Linked DNA regions of Homo sapiens: region 2 is linked to region 1. Evidence: promoter capture Hi-C in 16 types of primary human blood cells and fetal thymus (Javierre and others, 2016). All regions are on one chromosome and are shown on one strand. The core of a region is centred on a gene start or on the middle of the fragment in contact, and the rest is flanking DNA. Distances in the headings are between cores, read along the strand shown.

Region 1 (4,644 bases), core at 1,808-4,307:
AGGTGGGTGGACCACCTGAGGTCGGGAGTTCGAGACCAGCCTCACCAACATGGAGAAACCCTGTGTCTACTAAAAATACAAAATTAGCTGGGCGTGGTGGTGCATGCCTGTAATTCTAGCTACTTGGGAGGCTGAGGCAGGAGAATTCACTTGAACCCGGGAAGTGGAGGTTGCGGTGAGCCAAGATCGCACCATTGCACTCCAGCCTGGGCAACAAGAGTGAAACACTGTCTCAAAAAAAAAAAAAAAAAGTGAAAGATCTAAATTGTCAACTATTCGTCAATAATTAATGTCTAAAAAATATTAAGAAAGGAAGAAAGGAATGAGAGCAAAAGAGAGGGAGAGAGGAAAGTGTCATCTTCATAAGCTGAAGGCCAGTGCCACCGTCACCACTGGCAGAGCTCCCCAGATTCTACAAAGGGAAACTGTTCCTCCATATGGAGTAATAGGGACTGGATATGTCATGCCAAATGAAAGAACACGCCAAACCAGACAAAATATATGGAATGCAGAGTATTAAAAAACTGGCTGTGGGCCAGTGAGGGACAGCGACGTGTGGGAGCTGGGAAACAAGGTAAGCCATGCGACTGGCCCAGTGTCCTGTGTGGAGTTTCCTGGTGGAGCCTGGCAGACACCCGGACTTTAGGAGTTGAAACTGATTCAGAGCGTCCCAGCAGCTGGAGTTTGCAGGGCGGAGAACCAGAGAGAAGAGAGCTGCACAGGGAAAGAACCCTGGATATCCACAGAGGCTCCCGTTCCAGTGTGCAGCGGACTACGACTACTGGTGAGCACAGGCGTGTGAGGAAGCTACCCAAGACCAGGGAAGGCCATCACCCCAGCAGGAGAGGATGAACGGTAACTCCAGTGTGCAAGCAGGACAGGGACTAGCAGCTGTCCCCACCCACCAGGATAGAGAAGCTCATGTTCACCTAGGCAGCACTGGCCAGGGTGCCCAGAATGGTGTTTGTTGCCTCCATAGAGGGAAACAAGCCTACAGTTAAGAGCTGCTCTGGTCCCACACAGCACATCTTCAAAGCAAGACTCAAAAGGATCAAACCATTTCCTTGTTTTCTGAGAATAAAAGCAGTTGTACCTCTTCCTTTTCACTCTCAGAAAATCTGATAGAATCTATAAAAGAGCCCTAAGGCTGGAGACACTGTATTTTCCAGGGAGCCAACTCCTTGCCCCAGACACTAGTCAATTGCCCCAGCACTTTCTTCACTGATCGTTAGAGGAAAAAAGCTCATGTTAGATTTAAAAATCAGGAAAAAAATTTAACACTAAACTTGCAAATATTATGTGGTGTATATTACAGTTACACATTTACTATGTAAGTGCAACTGTAAAACTGAGGAAGTATTCCAAAATGTTGACAGTAGTTAATCCTGAATGACAGAACCCAATTGATTTTCATTTTCTTCCATTTCCTAAATTGTCTTCAATTTCCTTGTACTCCTTGAATATCTGAATTCTAGAACCCCCCCCCCAGCAACCCAAGCACAACAAGAATATTGGGAGGTGCCCCAGCTGCAAATAAACTCAGACTTGGAATAGTAGCGCAGTTTTATTTTCTGTAGTAACAAACATTTAAGAACCAGATAAAACATGAGGCCCTCCCAGGAAAGTAGCAACTGTGGGAATTCCTGCCCTAGGGAAGGATGGACGCACTGCCTACAAGGAGACGCAAAGTGGGACCTCGCTCCATTTGCCCAGGCCAGGCTTAGCGGGAAACGGGGGGCCCAAAGCGCTGCATGGTCCGCACCACCAGGGAAAGCTGGTCAAGAAAGTTGATGACGGAAATTCGGAGCAGGCGACAGTCTTCAGCTTTCCAGCGGCTAAAAGTGAGGGGAAAAGAAAATCAAATTGGAGGTGGCAACTCCTGGTCCCTCGCTCTGCCCCTCAGGCACCCAATATAGCAAACCCTTGGGAGCCCTGCCATTACACAGCCCCTCAGGCAGAGACCGGCCCAGCGCACCTGGCGCTCCTTAGGGCTCATCCTTGGATGTCCCCCATGTCTCCATGGGCCGCCTCCCCCAACCCCGTCCCTTTCAGAACTTACACGACCAGGATCCTGCCACTCACTGTGAGATCCTTCCCAACCACCCTTTGGTGGGGCTCGGCATCTGGTGCCAGGGACCCATGGGCGATTTCCGCCTCCAAGGGGGTCGGGAAAGGCACGCTGAGGGTGCTGGGGGTCATTCGGTTAAGGTGCCATCTGATACGATCTTGCCTATGTCTCAGGCCTTCTTGCTCCTCTGAAGCCCCCTCTCAGGTCACCCTGCCTAGTGTCACCCCCTTCACTCCTTACCTCGCCCAGGCCACCGTTAGCAGAGCTTCTCCCTCCATTTCAATGTCTTCCCCTCCTCCGACCACCTCTGACCGTATACGCCAGCCCCGGTCCCCCCCTGCTACCCTTTCCGTCGGCCCCCCGCCCGCCCTCCTTTCCTTCTCCCCGAGTCCAGCCCTCGCTCCGCCGCAAGCAGCCCCCAGCTCGGAAAGGATACAATATGTGCGGCCGCATTCGTGACCCCCTGGCCGCAGACGCGGCGTCTCTGCCCGGACCTGGCGCGTGCGCTGGGGGAGCTCCACCGGCCGGAGCTGCGGCTGTGTCCACGCCCCCGCGGCAGCTGTGGCCACCCCGGCCATCCCCGCCGTCAGCGCCTCCGCCTGCGTCTGCATCCGCGTCCCGCATGACCGCCGCCGCGCCGCTCCGACTCCACCCCCGAAGCGCAGGTCCTACGCCCCGCCCTCTCTGTGGCTCCTTCCCGAAGCCCCGCCCCCTGCGCACGACTCCGCCCACACGCGCCTGCGCAGGTCCCTGGAGAGCCTGACTGGCGCGTGGTCAGTTCCCGCCAAGCGGCCCTGCCGGGGGCCTTCTGAGACCCGGTCAGCGGTTGAGAGGCTGCGGTTTCCTCCAGAAACTCTGCCCTTTCGCGCGTAACTCGATTCCAGAGCGCTGGTGCAAACTGACCCACAGTCGGTCCGGCCCCAGGAAGCCAACCCTGACGGGGCTTTTGAAGACACCGTGGTCGCCTATCCCAGAGGCGCACCCCGCGAGGCTCCGCCCCTAAGCGCGCCTTGTGACCTTAGCGCGCCTGCGCTGGCGGGGCCTTCCCCCTTGTCCCTGGAGGCCCCAGTGAGGCCCTGCGGTGCCTGGACGGCTTCCCGCCCCGTTTCTTACCTGGACCCAAGAGCCCCAGGAGATGTGGCACAACGTCCATGTTGCGATTCGCAGAGGGAGGGTGGCCGGGTCGGGTAACCCCCAAGGATACTGCTCTTGCCCTCAACCCCAGTGCCCAACCAACGGGGCTTCACCATGGACTGTGAAGCATCGGATGTGCATTTTAGAGGAAGCATTTTAGAGCGGGTGGGCTGTGCAGAGCGGGGGAGCCTGTCAGCAGGAGGCCTGCACGGAGGCGAAAAATGACAGGGCCTTGAATGAAAGTACTGGCGGTGGGTCTAGGTCTAATATAACGTGAAAAATCAGACTGCACAACTATGAGTATGAAAATGCCAGTTTAGGCCAGGCAAAGTGGCCCCCGCTTGGAATCCCAGCACTTTGGAAGGCCAAGGGAGGAGGATCACTTGAGCCCAGGAGTTCAAGACAAACACAGGCAACATAGTGAGACCCCGTCTCTACAAAAAATACAAAAATAAATTTTAAAAGTTAGCTGGGAGTGGTGGAGCGTGCCTGTAGTCATAGCTTCTTGGAGGCTGAGGAGGGTTGATTGCTTGAGCCCGGGAGTTCGACACCAGCCTGGGCAACATAGTGAAACCCTGCCTCTACAAAAAATACAAAAATTAGCTGGGTGTGATGGTGCACACCTGTGGTCCCAGCTACTAGGGAGGCTGAGATGGGAGGACAGCCTGAGCCCGGGAGGCAGAGGCTGCAGTTAGCCGTGATCGCCCCACCGCACTCCAGCCTGGTTGATAGAGCCAGACCCCGCCTCAAAAAATAAAAGAAAATGCCAACTTAGTCTCTTACTGTACATATGTAGAGAAATCCTAGAACAATACAGCGTCAGGTAAATCCTCATGATCTCTGCTAATAGTATGGTGGGTGACTTTAATTTCCTTTTTGTGTTTTCCCTCCAATTTTTCCGAAGTGGTCTTTTATGACATTTACAATAAAAAAAAAAGTATTTAAAGTGACATCAGTCCGGGCACGGTGGCTCACGCCTATAATCCCAGTACTTTGGGAGGCCGAGGCGGGTGGATCACTTGAAGTCAGGAGTTCAACACCATCCTGGCCAACATGGTGAAACCCCCGGCCCTACTAAAAATAACAAAAATTAGCTGCGTGTCGTGGTGTGCGCCTGTAGTCCCAGCTATTCGGGAGGCTGGGACAGAAGAATCACTTGAACCCGGGAGGTGGAGGTTGTGGTGAGCCGACATCACGCCACTGCACTCCAGCCTGGGCGACAGAGGGAGACTGTCTCAAAAAGAAAAATAATAAAAATAAAAAATGAATAAATAAAGTGACATAAAATTTCCAACAGTGTTTGTCATGTTTGGACAACCTATTTTCCTCCTTTGCAGTCATAAGGAAGGATTAAACACTGAACTATATCAGCAAATCCTGTTGGGTTTCCCTCTGAAATAGGTTCCACATCAGCCCACTTCTCGCTCTCCACTGCTAGTCTG
Region 2 (4,700 bases), core at 194-2,693, 510 kb before region 1:
GGGTGAGGCTGCACAGCAGCCCCGAGTCCAGACCCAGCAGCAGGCCCCCGCCATGCACACAAAGCTGGGTATTATATGAGGGCTCCGCAGAGCAAGAGGGGGCGCTGGCTTGGGACTACCTCCAGACAGAGAGTCCTTGGCCACGGGCCTTGGAAAATACCCATCAGGAAACTTGTAGGCAGCGGAGGCTGAGAAGGAACGCGAGCAGCTCTAAGCCGACTCCGAGAGCTGGGCCAGCCCAAGGCAAAGTGGCTTCCACCTCCAGCTTGGCCCTCCTCCCACGAGGCCTGCTCAGGGTCAGTAGCGATTTTGGAGCCCGAAAGCTCCTGAGAGGGCATCCGGTGCCGCTCTCTCATTTACAACCCAGCACGAGAAAGGGACCCGGCCACGGGGCTCTGCTGCGCACATTCTTTAGGACACCATGGAGCCCTGTGCATGTGAGAGCACACCCACCCGGGGGGTTCCAGAGAAAAGGACCAAGCCTCACCTTGGAATGTTGTTCTTTGGGTCCTCGCTATCATTGGCCAGACCCCCAAACAGGTAGCATTTGTTGCCCACAAGGGAGAAGCTGTGCCCGAGTCGAGGACACGGAGGGGGCCCGTTTTTGGGCGTCTTTGCTTTGAGTCTCTTCCACTCCCACCGGCTCGCCTGCAAAATCAAGACCTGGAGACTGAACCGTGGGATGAGAAGGCCACCACTAGGGACCCGGGGCAACTTGTGGTGGAGGAGGAAATGGCCGGGGGTGAGCGAGGTGCCTTGCTGGAGCAAGAAGGTCCTGGGTGTTGGTCCTTGCTGCCTTCTTCTGAGGTGGGCCAAGTTCAGAGCAGCCTTGGCAGACTCTCAAGCGTCCCTTCCACCTCCCGCTTGCCTCAACCCTGAAGCCACTACCGTCAGGTCACATGGGGCCAAGGAGGCAGAGTGAGAACCTGGGGCTGCTTTACCTGGAGTTCGTAGAGGTCATTGCTGTATTTCCCATACTCCACCATCCCACCAAACACCAGGAGGCGAGTCCCGTCACACACGAAGCCATAGGCTGCACACCCAGGGGGAATGTCCCCCCTCACGGCTGGGATGAACCACTGGTTGGTTGCTGGGGAACAGAAGGAGGCAGAAGTCAGAACACCCGGGAGCCCCCATTCCTCTCATTCCCCAAATGTGCCAGCCGTCAAGCTTGGTGAGAGGGGCTGAGCCAGCACCATCCCTGCGGGCGCTCTAGCAACTCCAGCTGCGCTACCTGGGCCATCTTCCAAACCCCTCGACTTCAGGCCAGTGCAAAAGAGCCTGTGACCACCCTGCTTCTCGCCAAGGTCATCTTAATGAGCGGGAAGTTACTGTGCAAGATCCCTCATCAGCTACTGGGAATCTAGCCACTGCCTTCCTTCCCTAGCACTCAGTGATCAGACATGAATTTCTCCCCAAAATACCCTCTTGGTGGGCCTGTGCTCCTCCTCCCTGGAGCCCACATTTTTGTCCCTTCATCACAGGGTCAGGACAGCCAGAGCCCAGAGCAGCACTTTCAAGTGGCCAAAACAGTGACCGCTGCAGGCTACGAAGAGCCATGGGGATGAGACCCGGCCTCTGCTCTGACCTCCCGGACTTCCTCTGGTCTCCTAGGTGATGGTCCACCAGCATCCCTCCCTGCCCCTGCTGCCACACCTATGGTACTCCAGAACATTCTTGCAAGCCAGAGGCAGCAGTCTCAGCAGAGCTGTGACAGAAGCTTCTCAAAAGCTCATGAGGGTGAGGCGACCACCAAGAAAGAGGGAAATCAGACCTTAGGCACTGCTTTGCTTCCACAGGATGGCACAGCAGCCTTCAGCTGGGACCAGGCCCCTCCCTCATGTCCTCAAACTTGACTCCCCTCACACCTGGCAGGCCAGGGCTTCCCCGAAAACCTCCTCCTATGAGGGGTCCCTCAGAGGATTCACCACACTCTTTCCAGAAACCCCAAACTGGGGGCCAGGTGCAACCCCGACTCTGTGCCTCTGAGCTGGCCTGGGTGAGATCTCAGCAAGCAGACGGCAGAAGGAACTGAGGCCCCTCCACATGACTCAAGACGCAAGATGGGTCCCCCAGGACGTGACAGGGCATGGGGGGATTCCTGTGGGGTGGGAAGGCTTCCACACAGGGATGCTGTGATATTGTGATATAATACAGACTATTCAGTTTGGTGGCCAAAAGTGTTGTGAGACCATAGAAGAGGAAAAACAGTGTTTTTTTTCCATATTCAGGTGTGCACCCAGGGCCAGGCGGCTGACCATGGTTGGGAATGCATGCCCCACTGCACTCTGGTCCCACCCAGTCTCACACTGTCACCCCCAGGGCTCAATGCGGAACCGTGTGCAAGGCTAGCCCTTATCCAAAGCACAACTCCCAGCCTGGGTAGCACAGGGAGACCCCGTCTCTACAAATAATTTTAAAACACTGGCTCAGTGTGGTGGCATACACTTGTGGTCCTAGCTACTCAGGAGGCTGAGGCGGGAGGACTGCCTGACCCTCAGAGTTTGAGGCTGCAGTGAGCTGAGACCGCACCACTGCATCCCGGCCTGGGCAACAGAGCAAGACCTAACCTCAAAACAAACAAACAAACAAAAAAAACAGAAAACCCCACACAGCACAACTGTACCACCACCGCTCCTCCTGAGGCGAGAGCACCCCCACCCCGCTCTCCAGCACCCACTCTGCGGGTAGGCTTCGAGCAGGCTGACAGCCTCTGCAGCCATTCAGCTGAGTCACTGGGCCTCGGACATGCCGAGCACTAGAGCTCCCCTGCCATTTCCCTAAAGCAGAGGGACAACACCTGTGCCGCCCGCATGTGCAAGCTCGGATCCTGGCCCTCTGCCTCTTTCTCATTCCCAGTGCAAAAACCACCCCAGAAAAGCAAGAGCTGCCAAGGCCAACAGCCTTGCGCACTGGAGAGCCGTCCTGACCAATCCCTGGAGGGAGCTCCATGCAAGCTACCAGGGTAAACGCATAACGAGACCTAAGGCTGCCTGGGCCAACTGCTCTCGGTAGGTAAAGGGGCAGAGCCCAGGAGGGCAAGCGACACCTGAGGTCACAGCGTAAAACAGAGACAGAGACAACAGCCCCATCACTGACTTGAAGCAACCGATCTGTGCCTTCCCTAGGGTCCCATGTCCAGGCAGCCACCCTCACTCCCCTGAGCACCCTCGTGGTCAAAGCCCACAGCTATGGGGCTGCGGGTCAGAGTTTGGGACAAAGCTAAATGGCACGTGGGGTCAGTGGGCAGCTTTCCTATCACACGCTGATCAGTGAGCCGGTGGGCCAGGCCAGAAGCGCCCTGTGATATCTTTGGGGATCCCGCTCACCAGATCCTTCTACAGGACCCAAGAGGTGCTGATCTCATTCTAGAACACTCCAGGCAGGGCAGGGGCCCTCCCCACCCCCGTCAAGAGAGGTCTGTCAGGGAGCACAGCTCCTGGTGTGACGACAAACCTGCGGCTCCTCATCTCACCCACGAGTCCTGGTTCCGCCCCCTGAAAGCACACGAGCAAGCTCTCCTCCCTTCTCCCAGCTTTTCAATGTGACAGCTGCTCTCAGTCACCCCTGAATCATCTGGGGGGTGTCATGTAACCCAATCCTTGGGCCCCTCATCCTGGAAATGCTGGCTCTCAGCTGGGAGGGGAAGGTGGGGAAAGGACCCTGCACTAGATGAAGACCACTCCAGCTCCCCTCTCCTGAGCAAGGCTGTGCCCCGGCCTCTCTGTGTTTCATCAGCTCCCCCAACCACTTCATGCTCTGCAAGCTCCATCCCTGGTTGCCACTGTCCCATCACCACCTAGAGACTGGTGCCCATGCAGTGAGGTGGCCGGTCAAGTTCAACGAGCTGCCTTCCTCTCTGTTCTACCTGTCACATTAGAGCATTTCCTGTGTGGCATACGACGTGCTGGGAGGCACAGAGGACACCGATCTTGTGCTCATACTCCCAATGGGGTAGGAAGGCTGCATGCCCCCCTCCCACGATGAGACAAACACCCTAGAAGAGCTCTGACCAAGCCGGGCCCTTGGGAGCACAGAGCAGTGCGACTGCTGGAGAGGGGAGGACAGGAGTGGAAAGGGCTTCTCAGAAGAGGTGACGTTTCAGCCGGGCCTTGAAGGGTGAACAGGATTTCCCGACAAATGAAACTAGCAGGGCCAATCAGGAAGTGACTGCAAGAGTCTAGTAAGAGGAGAGGAGGGCTTGGTGTGGAAGGGGACACATTTGATGCCTGCCCAACGCAATGAACAATTAGATACAGGGACAGAGGAGAGAATGGAGGCATTTCAAAGGTGATGGGCCCCAAAGACAGGTGGCAGAACGGCCTCTATGAAGGTTTGCACTCCCGCCCAACTCCGCCACCAGCTGGGAGGGCGACCCTGGACCTGTCACTTCCCCTCTTGGACCCCAATTTCCTCATCTGCAGAAACAAGGAAGTAGTTCCACTAGGTATTTTCCAAGGCTCCCTCCAGCTCCAAGAACCTATGGACATTACAGAGCCACCGTAGCCAAAGCTCTCGCTCCCCCACCCCCCACACCTGGCAGCACTCTGAATCCTTTGGCTTGCCACATGGAACTAAAATTCCCTAAGGACAAGCACAGTAGCTACCCTAAGAGCTCTCAAAGCACACACCCCCTGAAGCTTTCTTATCCTAGCAACGGGAACCCCTTCCAGATCAGCTCTCTCCAAAGGTACAAGGCT

The links. The method cuts DNA at HindIII sites, captures the fragments that hold promoters and counts their contacts. A CHiCAGO score of 5 or more calls a contact.
Region 2: a contact is called between a fragment that was not itself captured here and the fragment with the promoter of LAGE3 in region 1, in 1 of 17 cell types (non-activated CD4 T cells). The highest score is 6.7, in non-activated CD4 T cells.

Annotation. Positions count from the first base shown.
Region 1 is chrX:154,476,224-154,480,867 of GRCh38, forward strand. It overlaps LAGE3 (L antigen family member 3), which reads right to left and starts at 3,058. Exons shown (of 3, transcript NM_006014.5): 1 at 2,505-3,058; 2 at 2,060-2,188; 3 at 1,552-1,835. The coding sequence starts at 2,692. The coding sequence ends at 1,721. PLXNA3 (plexin A3) reads left to right here. Exons shown (of 33, transcript NM_017514.5): 33 at 1-1,556. RefSeq lists a silencer at 2,452-2,671 and an enhancer at 2,933-3,432. The HindIII fragment of the contact is 14,076 bases long and covers 1-4,644 here.
Region 2 is chrX:153,963,637-153,968,336 of GRCh38, forward strand. It overlaps HCFC1 (host cell factor C1), which reads right to left. Exons shown (of 26, transcript NM_005334.3): 2 at 942-1,090; 3 at 488-648. Among named protein-coding and RNA genes, the nearest start is that of HCFC1-AS1, 2.8 kb to the right of the region's middle. RefSeq lists enhancers at 2,044-2,702, 2,703-3,362. The HindIII fragment of the contact is 550 bases long and covers 1,169-1,718 here.